Linked DNA regions of Homo sapiens: regions 1 and 2 are each linked to region 3. The links are contacts of gene promoters, found by promoter capture Hi-C in blood cells and fetal thymus (Javierre and others, 2016). All regions are on one chromosome and are shown on one strand. Each heading gives the region's core, a stretch centred on a gene start or on the middle of the fragment in contact. The rest is flanking DNA. Distances are from core to core; before and after follow the strand shown.

What was found. Contacts are between HindIII fragments. The CHiCAGO score rates a contact against its expected background, and 5 or more counts as called.
Region 1: a contact is called between a fragment that was not itself captured here and the fragment with the promoter of CR1 in region 3, in 1 of 17 cell types (M2 macrophages). The highest score is 5.3, in M2 macrophages.
Region 2: a contact is called between a fragment that was not itself captured here and the fragment with the promoter of CR1 in region 3, in 1 of 17 cell types (M2 macrophages). The highest score is 6.5, in M2 macrophages.

Annotation. Positions count from the first base shown.
Region 1 is chr1:207,314,460-207,318,123 of GRCh38, forward strand. The region is part of intron 1 of LOC107985251 (a long non-coding RNA gene); the gene reads right to left. Among named protein-coding and RNA genes, the nearest start is that of CD55, 5.4 kb to the right of the region's middle. RefSeq lists an enhancer at 2,125-2,954. The HindIII fragment of the contact is 3,192 bases long and covers 504-3,664 here.
Region 2 is chr1:207,247,660-207,251,584 of GRCh38, forward strand. All of the region lies in intron 2 of LINC02942 (long intergenic non-protein coding RNA 2942), which reads left to right. All of the region lies in intron 1 of LOC107985251 (a long non-coding RNA gene), which reads right to left. Among named protein-coding and RNA genes, the nearest start is that of LINC02942, 9.5 kb to the left of the region's middle. The HindIII fragment of the contact is 2,385 bases long and covers 1,089-3,473 here.
Region 3 is chr1:207,494,415-207,498,166 of GRCh38, forward strand. CR1 (complement C3b/C4b receptor 1 (Knops blood group)) reads left to right here and starts at 1,743. Exons shown (of 47, transcript NM_000651.6): 1 at 1,743-1,974. The coding sequence starts at 1,854. The HindIII fragment of the contact is 13,119 bases long and covers 1-3,752 here.

The sequences.
Region 1 (3,664 bases), core at 850-3,349, 180 kb before region 3:
GTGTTTTCAACAAAACCTGCAATTATTGTTTGTCTGAAGTAAATTACCTTCTTCATAGCAGAACATTTGGCTATATGAGAAAGTACTATTTATCCTAGAGAAATGATCATCATATAGGTAAATGGATTTTATTTGACATCTGAAAGAACAGTGCTAGGAAAATACTCACCGATGAACACTTTGAGAAAGATCGAGGAACGCTTTAGTCTTCATTATGCACCAACAAATAAAAGGTAACACGTAGAGTGGACGGAGCATAATTTTAAATCTCCCCAGAACTGGGTTCAAATTTTGCTTGGCTTTGCCATCTGTATTGTTTTATCCAATCATTTCCCCCTCTGAACCTGTCCCAACATGTGCAATTGTAAGTAATAATAGTTTACTCATGGCACTGCTGGATGGTTAACCAAGGTTAAGTCTCAAAGTGAGAGTATCAATGGAAGGTGATCCCTTCAATGTAAATTTCTTCTTTCTTCCCTCCTTACCCTTGTGCAATTCTAGTAAGCTTAAATTGTAAATCTGCTTAACTTGCAAGCTGTTAAATCAAGGGAAACAAACTGCAGATGGGACTACATTGGAGGTAAAGAATCCAATGTTTATACAATTCTGAATCTTGGTAAATGACCTAATCTTTGCTAAAGGAAAAATACTACTGAGTGGGGAAAGAATAAGGAAAACAACTAAATGATCTCCACATTGCTAATACATGAGAATTTCATATTGCTTTTACAGAATTTTAAAACTGTATGTCATGACATGGCTGTATTTATAGATTTCATGAAAAGTGGCCAAGTCTTGTTATAGGAAACATTCATTCATGTCATCACCCATGATCATTCATTATTGTTAATATTTATAGAGTACTGTGTGCCAAGCAATGGGCCAAATGCTTTACATACATTATTTCCTTTATTCCTCACAAAACCTCTATGAGGTAATATCATTACACCTGTTTTATAAGTGGGAAATTTGTGTTTCAGAGCGGTTGGGTGCTGGACCACACTCTCACATGCACACACACTCTCACATGCTCACATTCATACACGCACATACACTCTCACATGCTCATACACATTCATATACATGCACACACATGCTCACACAGGCTTTCATACACACACTCACATGCTCACACACATTCATACATGCACACACATGCACACTCATTCATACATGCACACACATGCTCAGACTTTCATACACACACACATGCACACACACATTCATACATGCACGCACACTCTCACATGCTCACACACATTCATACATGCACACACTCATGCTCACACATATACATGCACACACTCACATGCTCACATTCATACATGCACACACACTCTCACATGCTCACATTCATACATGCACATACTCTCATGCTCACACACATTCATATATGCACACTCACATGCTCACACACATTCATATATGCACACTCACATGCTCACACACGTTCATACATGCACACACACGCTTACACACTCATACATGCATACACTCTCACATGCAAACATATTCTCACATTCTTGCACACACATACTAAAATGAACAAACTAGCCACAAGATTAAAAATTATGGCTCAGGAGTCATGCAGCTAAAGGCTACAAGATTCCTAACCTTCCCAATTGCTCCTATAAATAATGTTACTATTGCAAAACCTAAATTTGTGTTTGAAGTTCACACATGAACACAGTCTCACATGTGTGCACACACACATTTTCTTGTTCCTGCCCCTACCTCCAAAGTGGAGGTAGCAAAAATTCACTGTTGTCTCAGAAAGTTAGATCTTGGCAAATAAATATTTGCTCACATAAGTCAAGCATTGCATTTCCCCCTGGCTGCTGAGCCTGTTCTCACACACACAGGGAAGTCAGCTGCAGGGCAGGATGCCATTTCATAGGTGAACATGTCACATGGAATTAGACCACTTTTTCCCAGGTCCTGCTGAACCTGCACCTAGTGAAAAAAAAACTACTATGTCTGCTGCAATACACTGATACCTTGATTAGTGAATTCCTGAAGAACTCATGTATAAGAAATGGGAGAGTCCACTCATTTGTTTTCATTTATTAAAAAATACCCTTATTCTGTGAAGCAGAATTACCTGTATTTGCAGCTGCATGACAAAAATGCCTCAATATAAAGCTCCCCCCAACCCCCACCCCCCGCCCATTGGCTATTTTAAGATAAGTTGGCAATAAATTTAGGCTGAGTTAGAATGTAAATATGAAATAGACTGGTTCCTCAGATGTGAGGCATAGATAGGCACATTACATACTTTGGTAGCATAGAGGAAGGTACCAGGTATGATGCAATGGCAAGGGAGATTTTCTGGAGGAATGTTGCCTGGCCAGTCTAACAGAGGTGTTAAGATCCTAAGCACTAGTTCTACTGCCAGCAAGCCATGTGGTTTGGGGCTAGTTTCTTAACTTCCCTAAACACCAGCTGGTTCACTTGCAATGAGGGTGATAATATTTGCTCACAGTTTTGTATTCCTTGGCTTTCAAGAAATTGCACAATCCTCTTTCCTTTCCACTACCTTCTCCTTTCCCTTTCTCTGTCATTTGTACTTTCTAACGTGGGGCTCCTCAAGTCTCACACCTTGGGCTTCTCTATTTCCACATGCTATGCTCCCTTGGTTCAAACCTTGCCTGCAGTCACATCTCTACCCACTCCACCTCAATCTTGCCTCCGTTTCAATCGCATGCTGGACATTTCCACGTAGACACTCTGCCAAGGCATTTGAAATTCAACAAGTGTAAAGCTGAATATGGATAGTTCTTTTAAATAGGGCTGCTAATCTCACAAACTCCAAACTTCCGAGTCCTCTTCAACATCTTTTTCCCCACTGTTCCTTATCTAATCAGTTGCCAAATTCTGTGGCTTATTACTTTGAAACTTGTTTGGTCAGAGCAGGAATGGAAATTCAAAAGTCTATAATAATTGTGTCAGGAGTTTTACAGAGCAACAGGACTGGAACTCCTTAATATAGATTTATTAATTTTAAAACTAAAAGACATTTTTGTTCTCTAAACACCTGGACTGTTGTAATTAGCTAAATTGGATCTTTGCTTACACAGCCATTCCCATTCCAGCATCTTAGATGCAAATTCCAAATTACCCAGGTGCTTCCTCCTTACAAGTGTCAACCGTCCTTTAATGCTTCTGAATGGTGTAAAAGGCACAGGCCTTGCCTTTAAGGCTCTCTCAAATCTCTTTCCAGCCTCTCTTACCCTCTTGTTCCATTGCCATTGCCTCAATTCAGTTCTCCATACTCTCCCTAAACTAAACTCCTTACTATTCCTGGAATCAACAGGACTGACCCCAAACCTTTGTTCGTATCTCATCTCTTTTCCTATTTTTGCCCTATTGCATTGACACTTGTCATATTTAGTTGAATCACTGGGCCTTTAGCCTTCCCCGCTCCAATTACCACACTCCCTTCTTTCCTTTCTGAAGCCCCATACCACTTTGGTTGTGATATTTGTATAGCATTTATCATGGAAAACCTCCCTACTAGATTGTAGATTCTCAAACACAAGTATTGACACTTAGTGGGTTTCTGTATACTAGGGAAGTTTATTAAACAGTCTTTGATTTAGTCATTGTATGGTTCCTGGGATAAGAGTAAGAACCGTGGTCCCTTGCTCTGTCAAAATCATAAACC
Region 2 (3,925 bases), core at 1,031-3,530, 250 kb before region 3:
CTCAGCCTCCCGAGTAGCTGGGACTACAGGCACCCGCCACCATACCCGGCTAATTTTTTTTGTTTGTTTGTTTGTTTTTGTATTTTTAGTACAGATGGGGTTTCACCGTGTTAGCCAGGGTGGTCTTGATCTCCTGACCTCGTGATCCGCCCGCCTCGGCCTCCCAAAGTTCTGGGATTACAGGTGTGAGCCACCGCACCCAGCCGGGAGCTTCTCTCTTATATGAGTCAGGGAGGGGCTCCAAAGGTGAGAAAGAGGATTTCCTCCACAGTTCTAATGAATCAGACCAAACAAGGAAGCAGGAAACAAGACAGGTGTCTGGGACCTTCCATGCAATGCCCCAGAAAACTGGTTCACAGTGGGGGCAATATGGGAAATGAGGGTATGTTTCAAAATAACTTTTATAATTGCCTTATTCCAGATTCTCTGAAAGCCATTGTATAACAGATTTGTTGGGGTAACAAAATCCTTTTTCAGAAGAAGGTAGCAATGGATAGAGAAATTTTTTCTCAGGAGAAGTCATTCAGAGCAGATGTGGACAGGAAGGGTCGTACAAGGTTCATATACATGCTGAGCCCTGGGGGGTGGGGAATGAATGAGGGACCCCACAGGATGCCTTCTTTTGTGATGTGGTCCTACCCTGTGAGTGTATTAGTTGGGAAAAACTAAGTTTATTGTCATGGCAAACAACCCCCAAATCTCAGTGGCTTTAAAAATAAAGCGTTATTGGCCAGGCAGGGTGGCTCAGGCCTGTAATCCCAGCACTTTGGGAGGCCAAGGAGGGCAGATCACGAGGTCAGGAGGTCGAGACCATCCTGGCTAACATGGTGAAACCCCGCCTTTACTAAAAATACAAAAAATTAGCCAGGTGTGGTGGTGGGTGCCTGTAGTCCCAGCTACTGGGGAGGCTGAGGCAGGAGAATGGCATGAACCCCAGAGGCAGAGCTTGCAGTGAGCCAAGATCACACCACTGCACTCCAGCCTGGGTGACAGACCAAGACTCCATCTCAAAAAAATAAATAAATAAATAAATAAATAAAAATAAAATAAAAAAATAAAAATAAATAAATAAATAAATAAATAAATAAAGCTTTATTTCCTGTTAACACTACATGTCTATCTTGGGTTGCTGGGGAGCAGGGTTGGGATCTGCCCTGCGACCCACACAGCCTCTGCTTCGGGGGAAGGAATATGAAAATCCCATGGCTCTTCATAACTTTACATTTTACTGCCAAAAGCAAATCACTTTAACGGAGCTATAAAAGGAAGAGGGAAGAACAACACTATCATGTGCCTGGAAGGAGAAGAATCAGAATCATTGAGGAACCACACTAATGACTAACACACTGCAACTACAGAGATTTCCTGCAAAACTTGCATAATCACATATGCTCATTACTTTTGGATTTCTTGTGATTAGCAATCAAGGACAGTTTCTCAGCTAATCAGTACAGGAAGAAGAGCCTATGGTAACAGACAATAAAGGAACAGGTAAGACATAGATATAGGAACACAGGCAGGGGGAGTCAAAAGGATGTGAGGACAGGGGATGCAGCTGAGAGGGCATGGCCAAGTTGATTTGTAATAGCAACAAACTTAAGACAACCCAAACATTTACCAACAGGGGACTGGTTTAAATACGATGTGCTTACAAACACTGGAATTTACTAATCCACCAAGTGTTCATAGAGAACCTACTCTGTGCCAGACACTGAGCATAGTGCTGTGAACAATAAAAACCCACTAAAATGAAATGTAGTCATGAAAAAATGAGGTAGATTTGCATGCACTGATGTGGAAAGATACCTAAAATGTATAAAATGAAAAATGCTTGTTTCAGAACAGCATGTATCATATGATCCCATTTGTGTAAGAAATTCTTACATATCTAAGTATACTGTTTACATAATCTCATAGTGATGATCTCTGGGGTATGTATTTGAAGAATGGTTAGGAAGGCCAAGAATTTATTTGACACTTTATAATCTTGCATTCTATTTGTAACCTGAGCATATTTATACATATAACATAGATGATATATAATGTAATAATAGTAATTTTAATTTTTATCTTTGGAATAATAGAAAACAGTAGTATAATTTTAATAATTTTTAAAACTAACAATGATATATTTGGCTGCTAAAGAAAGGAAAGACAGGGAGTAGGCAGTAGCTGGAGCAGGACATCAGGTTAAGGGATAAGTTGACTACAATAGACAGGACAGGTGGGATAGGGGAGACTGGGATGGGAGAGTAAGCAGTGTACGTTTTTCCTGATAAAGCCATAGGGGATGAGATTTGGGGCTGAGTTGGGAGAAAATAACCTCAGATTGGATGATGGACATCTCGATTTTATAGGAGGGGGAAAAAGGAAAGAATGGGTATGGGGGCTGTCTGGCTATATAACAGGCATCCTTTATAATGGCTTCTGTTTTCCCACTGAGCTAGAAATAAGAGCACTTCCTCAGAGAGAGGGAAAAAGTAGGAAACTTTGCATTTCAAGAAAGATAGACAAGGGTTGAAAATGTAGTAAATATAAAAACAATCTTACTAAATAAATTTATAATTTTCAGAAAGTCAGAGTTGAGGGCCCTGCTGAAATTGGTAACCACAAATTTATAGTGGTACCAATCTGCTTAATTTTATGGGTATTTTTCTAGAGTTCTGCTAACATGAAACAGCAGATTCCTGATTCATTTAAGGCTGGGATTTTATTAGGTGGATATAATGAAGGGTCATAAGGGGCAAAGAAGTTTAAAATATTGATAAAAGGCTAAAATGGTGCCTCATTGCCCCTCAGTTGGGAAGGGAAGAAAAGAAATGAAAAGAAGAGGGGTTGGTGGATGGTGATTTTCAAGAAAAAGTGTTTGATGGCAGGGGACTGTCAAGAAGGAACAAACTTGAAAGACAAAAGGGTGTGGTCACAGAGTGTGGTATCTGAATATTTTATTCTTCAGCTGGAACAGCCCTGGGTAGTGACAAAGTATAGGATGACCATTGGAGAGGTGCTAAGTGAGCAGGAGGATGTCATTGGAGATGTGGGGCTCAAGGAACTGAAAGGCCAGGCCCTGGCTGGTGTCATGTCCTGGCCACATGTTAGGAAGCCAGGTCAAGGAAGCAGGAATGAAGACCCAGTGATGACAGGGAAGGGAAGGAATATTTGTCAAGGCATAATTCAGGTGTTCCTGAGTCCCCTGGCCATACTGCTATTTATTGCCATCCAAATCCCTGTGTATTATCTAATAATGAGATCTCTGGCCCTCTGGAATCAGAATGCATTGCCTTAACTTCTGTCTCCTGGGATCTAAAATTCCATCACTGGCCTGAATGATCAGTGTTCCAGGTGCCCTAAAGGAGAGGGCTCAGAGAATTTGCTGTATATCTCTCTTTCCTTCGTCATGCCATTTGCTAGGTCTAGTTTATGGCCACTGTCTACTCACTGTCCCTGAAAAATATGGTCCCAAGAGAGGATCAAGCTTACTGCCTCCAGGAGGTAGCAGCCCTTGAGGGCTAATTTGCAGAGGTTCTGCAAGAGACATTTTCTCTCTCACACAGGCTCTGCTTTTCATAACCCTCCCAACCCTCCTTGTTGTCTTCTACCCCCCCAGGACTGGCCCTATTCCAAACTGCAGAATTTGTATGAGAGTAATCTAAAGTAATTGTAACTCTTATTATGCAATTTCTATCATTTATGAGTAATATGAGTTCTTGAGATAATTGGAAAACATGGTATTTCTATTGTCCCACCTTCAATGGAAAGTGGAAGAAATACATGGGCATCTGCAGGAAACCTAACATTCCGCACCCAAACACAGAATGGTTCTGAACACTACTGGGGGTATGTCTAACTTAGACATCTTGGCTAAATCTATCCTTTTTTATCTCTACTAAAGTGGAGAGAATTTTGGTAGCCTGGGATCTGACTG
Region 3 (3,752 bases), core at 493-2,992:
AGGAGTGGCACCTTCTGATAGCATGTGATGTAAAACTGGGGAAATGAGCCTTCTCCTCTTCTCTTTTCCTAAGCCTACTACAATCTGGCTGCTACTCCCATTACTCTGTTGAGAATAACTTGAAATGATGATAGCAAATCCTTAAAAGAATGTCACTGGATGTACTAAAAACTGTGATAAGTGATATGATCAAAGTAGACATTTCTTCCACTAGAATTTTGGGAGGAAGCCTAATGGAAACCAATGCGCACAGAAAGACAAATGCTGTATGTTATTAGTCATATGTGGACTCTAAAAAACTCATCTCATAGAAGTAGAGGGTAGAATACTGGTTACCAGAGGCTGGGGAAGGGAGAGACAATGGGAGATGGAGAGAGATTGGTTAAAGGGCACAGGATCACAGATAGATAGGAGGAATACATTCATCCTTGAATACTTAACCCTCTGCCCTAAATCTGTCAGTCCTACATCCATACTTCTTATTTCAGTAAGTAGCACCACCATTCATTTCTAATCCTGGGGCTAACTCTTTTTTTTTTTTCTTTTCTGAATCATGTCTCCTTTTAATGGTTAAGGAAAACAAGTTTAACATAAAATTAGCAACAACAACAACAACAACAACAAAATCAAGGTTTAAAGTCAAAATTATTTTAAGAGAAAAACCCAGGCAAAATAGCCTACCTACAGGCAGGCAGTACATGTCAGAAGGACAGGCCACCCCCAATAAAAAAGATAAAATATTATTTTTTCTACCTTTTTTAAACTTAATTATTTAATTATTTCTTTCTTTTTTCTTTTTTTTGTTTCTTTTTTTTATTATACTTTAAGTTTTAGGGTACATGTGCACAACGTGCAGGTTTGTTACATATGCATACATGTGCGACGTTGGTGTGCTGCACCCATTAACTCGTCCTTTACATTAGGTATATCTCCTAATGCTATCCCTCCCCCCTCCCCCCACCCCACAACAGGCCCCGGTGTGTGATGTTCCTCTTCCTGTGTCCATGTGTTCTCATTGTGGAAGCTGGAAACCATCATTCTCAGCAAACTACCGCAAGGGGGCTAACTCTTGATTGCTTTCTTCTCACCACCAACCTTAAGAAAGGAAGTAACCAAAATCCAATACATGAGCAACTGTTCATTCCATCTCCAATATCTTTGTTAATTGTCCACTTTATCCACCCAGTCAGGGCCGCCATCAAACCTCACTTGGATGTCGGCAAAAGCTCCCCTGACTGGTCTTCGCAGTCCATTATTGCCCTATTCTAATCTACCTTCCATACTATACACAGATTTACATTTTTTAAATGTGTATCTAATTGTCCCTCCCTTTTAAAAAATCTTACAATGGCATGACGTCTCAATTCAGGGTAAGGAAATTGTTTCTTCACATTCCCTGTACACCGTACACATCGCCTGCAATTGCCCTTCAACACGGAGAGCAGGCATTTCATTAGCTGACCTTCCCACACACATTCTTGCAAAGAGGAAAAGTTAAGCAGGGTGTTTGGAGGCGAGCTGCCATCATCCACCGCCTTTGTCTGGAAGCGCAGGGCCTCACACGCGGGATCCATCGGAAGCCCGAGCATTGTCAAGCTCTGCTGCTGCACCTGGGTCAGCAAGGTGGGCTCTGCCAGCGAAACTCGTTAGAAACAATGCAAATGGGGAGTAAACATGACCTCGCCCATGAAGGGGAAGCTGTGGTCAAAAGCATTTTGTCCCGGAACCCCGCAGCCCTCCCCACACTCTGGGCGCGGAGCACAATGATTGGTCACTCCTATTTTCGCTGAGCTTTTCCTCTTATTTCAGTTTTCTTCGAGATCAAATCTGGTTTGTAGATGTGCTTGGGGAGAATGGGGGCCTCTTCTCCAAGAAGCCCGGAGCCTGTCGGGCCGCCGGCGCCCGGTCTCCCCTTCTGCTGCGGAGGATCCCTGCTGGCGGTTGTGGTGCTGCTTGCGCTGCCGGTGGCCTGGGGTGAGAGGCGGGCGGGCGTGGGGAGGCGCCCGGGCGGACGAGGAACCCGGGGCCCCGCAGAGAACTCGCGTGCAGCGCTGAGCTGCGCTGCTCTGCGCGCCCGGGTCCGAAGGCAGCGCGATGGGTGGGCTGAGCGCGCGACCCGGCAGGGCGGCGGGTGTAGGATCCTTCTGCGCACTGGAGACCCTCGCTGCTTCTGGGTAAGCGTGGAGTTCCCAGGTGCAGGGGCTTAAGTCGTGACGAGCGCAGTGGAAGGCGCAGATGCTGAGCGGGTGCCGCACGAAATTCCTTGCCTTTGTGTATTCACAGCCTCGGCTGGCTATAGCCAAGACGTGGCGTTGATCCTAGTGAAAGGGAACTTGGGGATCCGACAAACCTGAGTTCTGGTCCTAGAAACTTAACTGTGAGGCAACTTAGCACACCTGAGTCTGTTTGCTCTTCTGTAAAATGGGGACACTGGTATCTCTGCATCGTGGAGTTGCTGCCTCAGTGGCATTAAGCCTGTCGAGTATCTAACACAGGGCTATGTGTCCCCGAGTCCATTTCTATCCCCCAACCGTTACCTCTGTACTTTGCTCCCAATGGTGTTTAGACAAGCAGTCCTAGGGATGCAGGTGTTACCTGACAACTGCCCCGCATGGAACTGTCCTCGCCCCCCACACCAAGCCACCACGGCCATCATCACCATGCACTTAATTGACAGCATACTTTAAGACAGATGCATGCCAGGCACTTGCGGATTAGAAGAGCAAGGGAAGCCCCAGAACATGCAATGTAACCGTTGCAGGTAGAAGGGACAGTAGATATGTTTACAGTTCGCATTTTAGTGATGTGTTTAGTACAAAATAACGCCTATTATAATTATTATGGAAATTTTGAGGCCACATCTCTTCCTTTTTCTTAACTTCAAATAGGTAAACATCTTCAGTTAGAACCCTTCTATTATTATTTTTCGGCTCCCCAGAAGTCTTCTTGGTTGCCTAGACTCACTGGCAACATCTCATTTGAAGTGACAGTCTTGGTTGTTTTTGTCCAGCCTATTCCTGACAACTCCGGGTTCGCCCTTCTCTGCCACTAGACATTTTACATTCATTATTTGAGTGTTCCTTCTTCTCTAAAAGAGTAAATAAAATAAAATAAAGTAGAACCAAGTCCCGCAAGAGTTGTTATTAATATTTGATCTCCTTAGGCACCAGAAAGTAACCTGTCAGGTGCAGAGATGTGATAAAACGTACAATCTTATTTTTAGGAGAGAAGCATGCCCAGTAAGTTAAGCAATCTGTTGTCAACGCTTAGGAATTTGTGTCATCTTTGGGAGTACTGGCCCTCTTCTTACTAGAATGTTGTTTTACTTAGCCTATGTTGATTAAGTTACTGTTATAAACAATCCCAGACACTATTAATTGCAAAAAAAAAATTTACTGAGGTTATCACAATAACTTCCAAATGTGAAACAGCCTAAACTAAACTACCTAGAAATTTTGTTGCTGACATAATTTAAATTTTAAAATGCTGATGGATGCTTCCAGTGTGCACGGTCCTTTGGAATTTTAAAGAAGTATAAGAGCTCTGCACCCAAAGTGTATGCATATAGAAGTAGGTGGTGGAGTTTTATGAAATCTACTTATTAGGAAGCCAGCGTTCTGCTTTTTCCAGCCTCTGCTACTTACCAGCTGGTGTCTTGGACCCAGTAAGTTAAGTCACATCACTGACCTTCAGTGTCCACATGTATAAAATGAGCACAACTGACATCCTGATCTCTGAGAGAGACGTTTTGA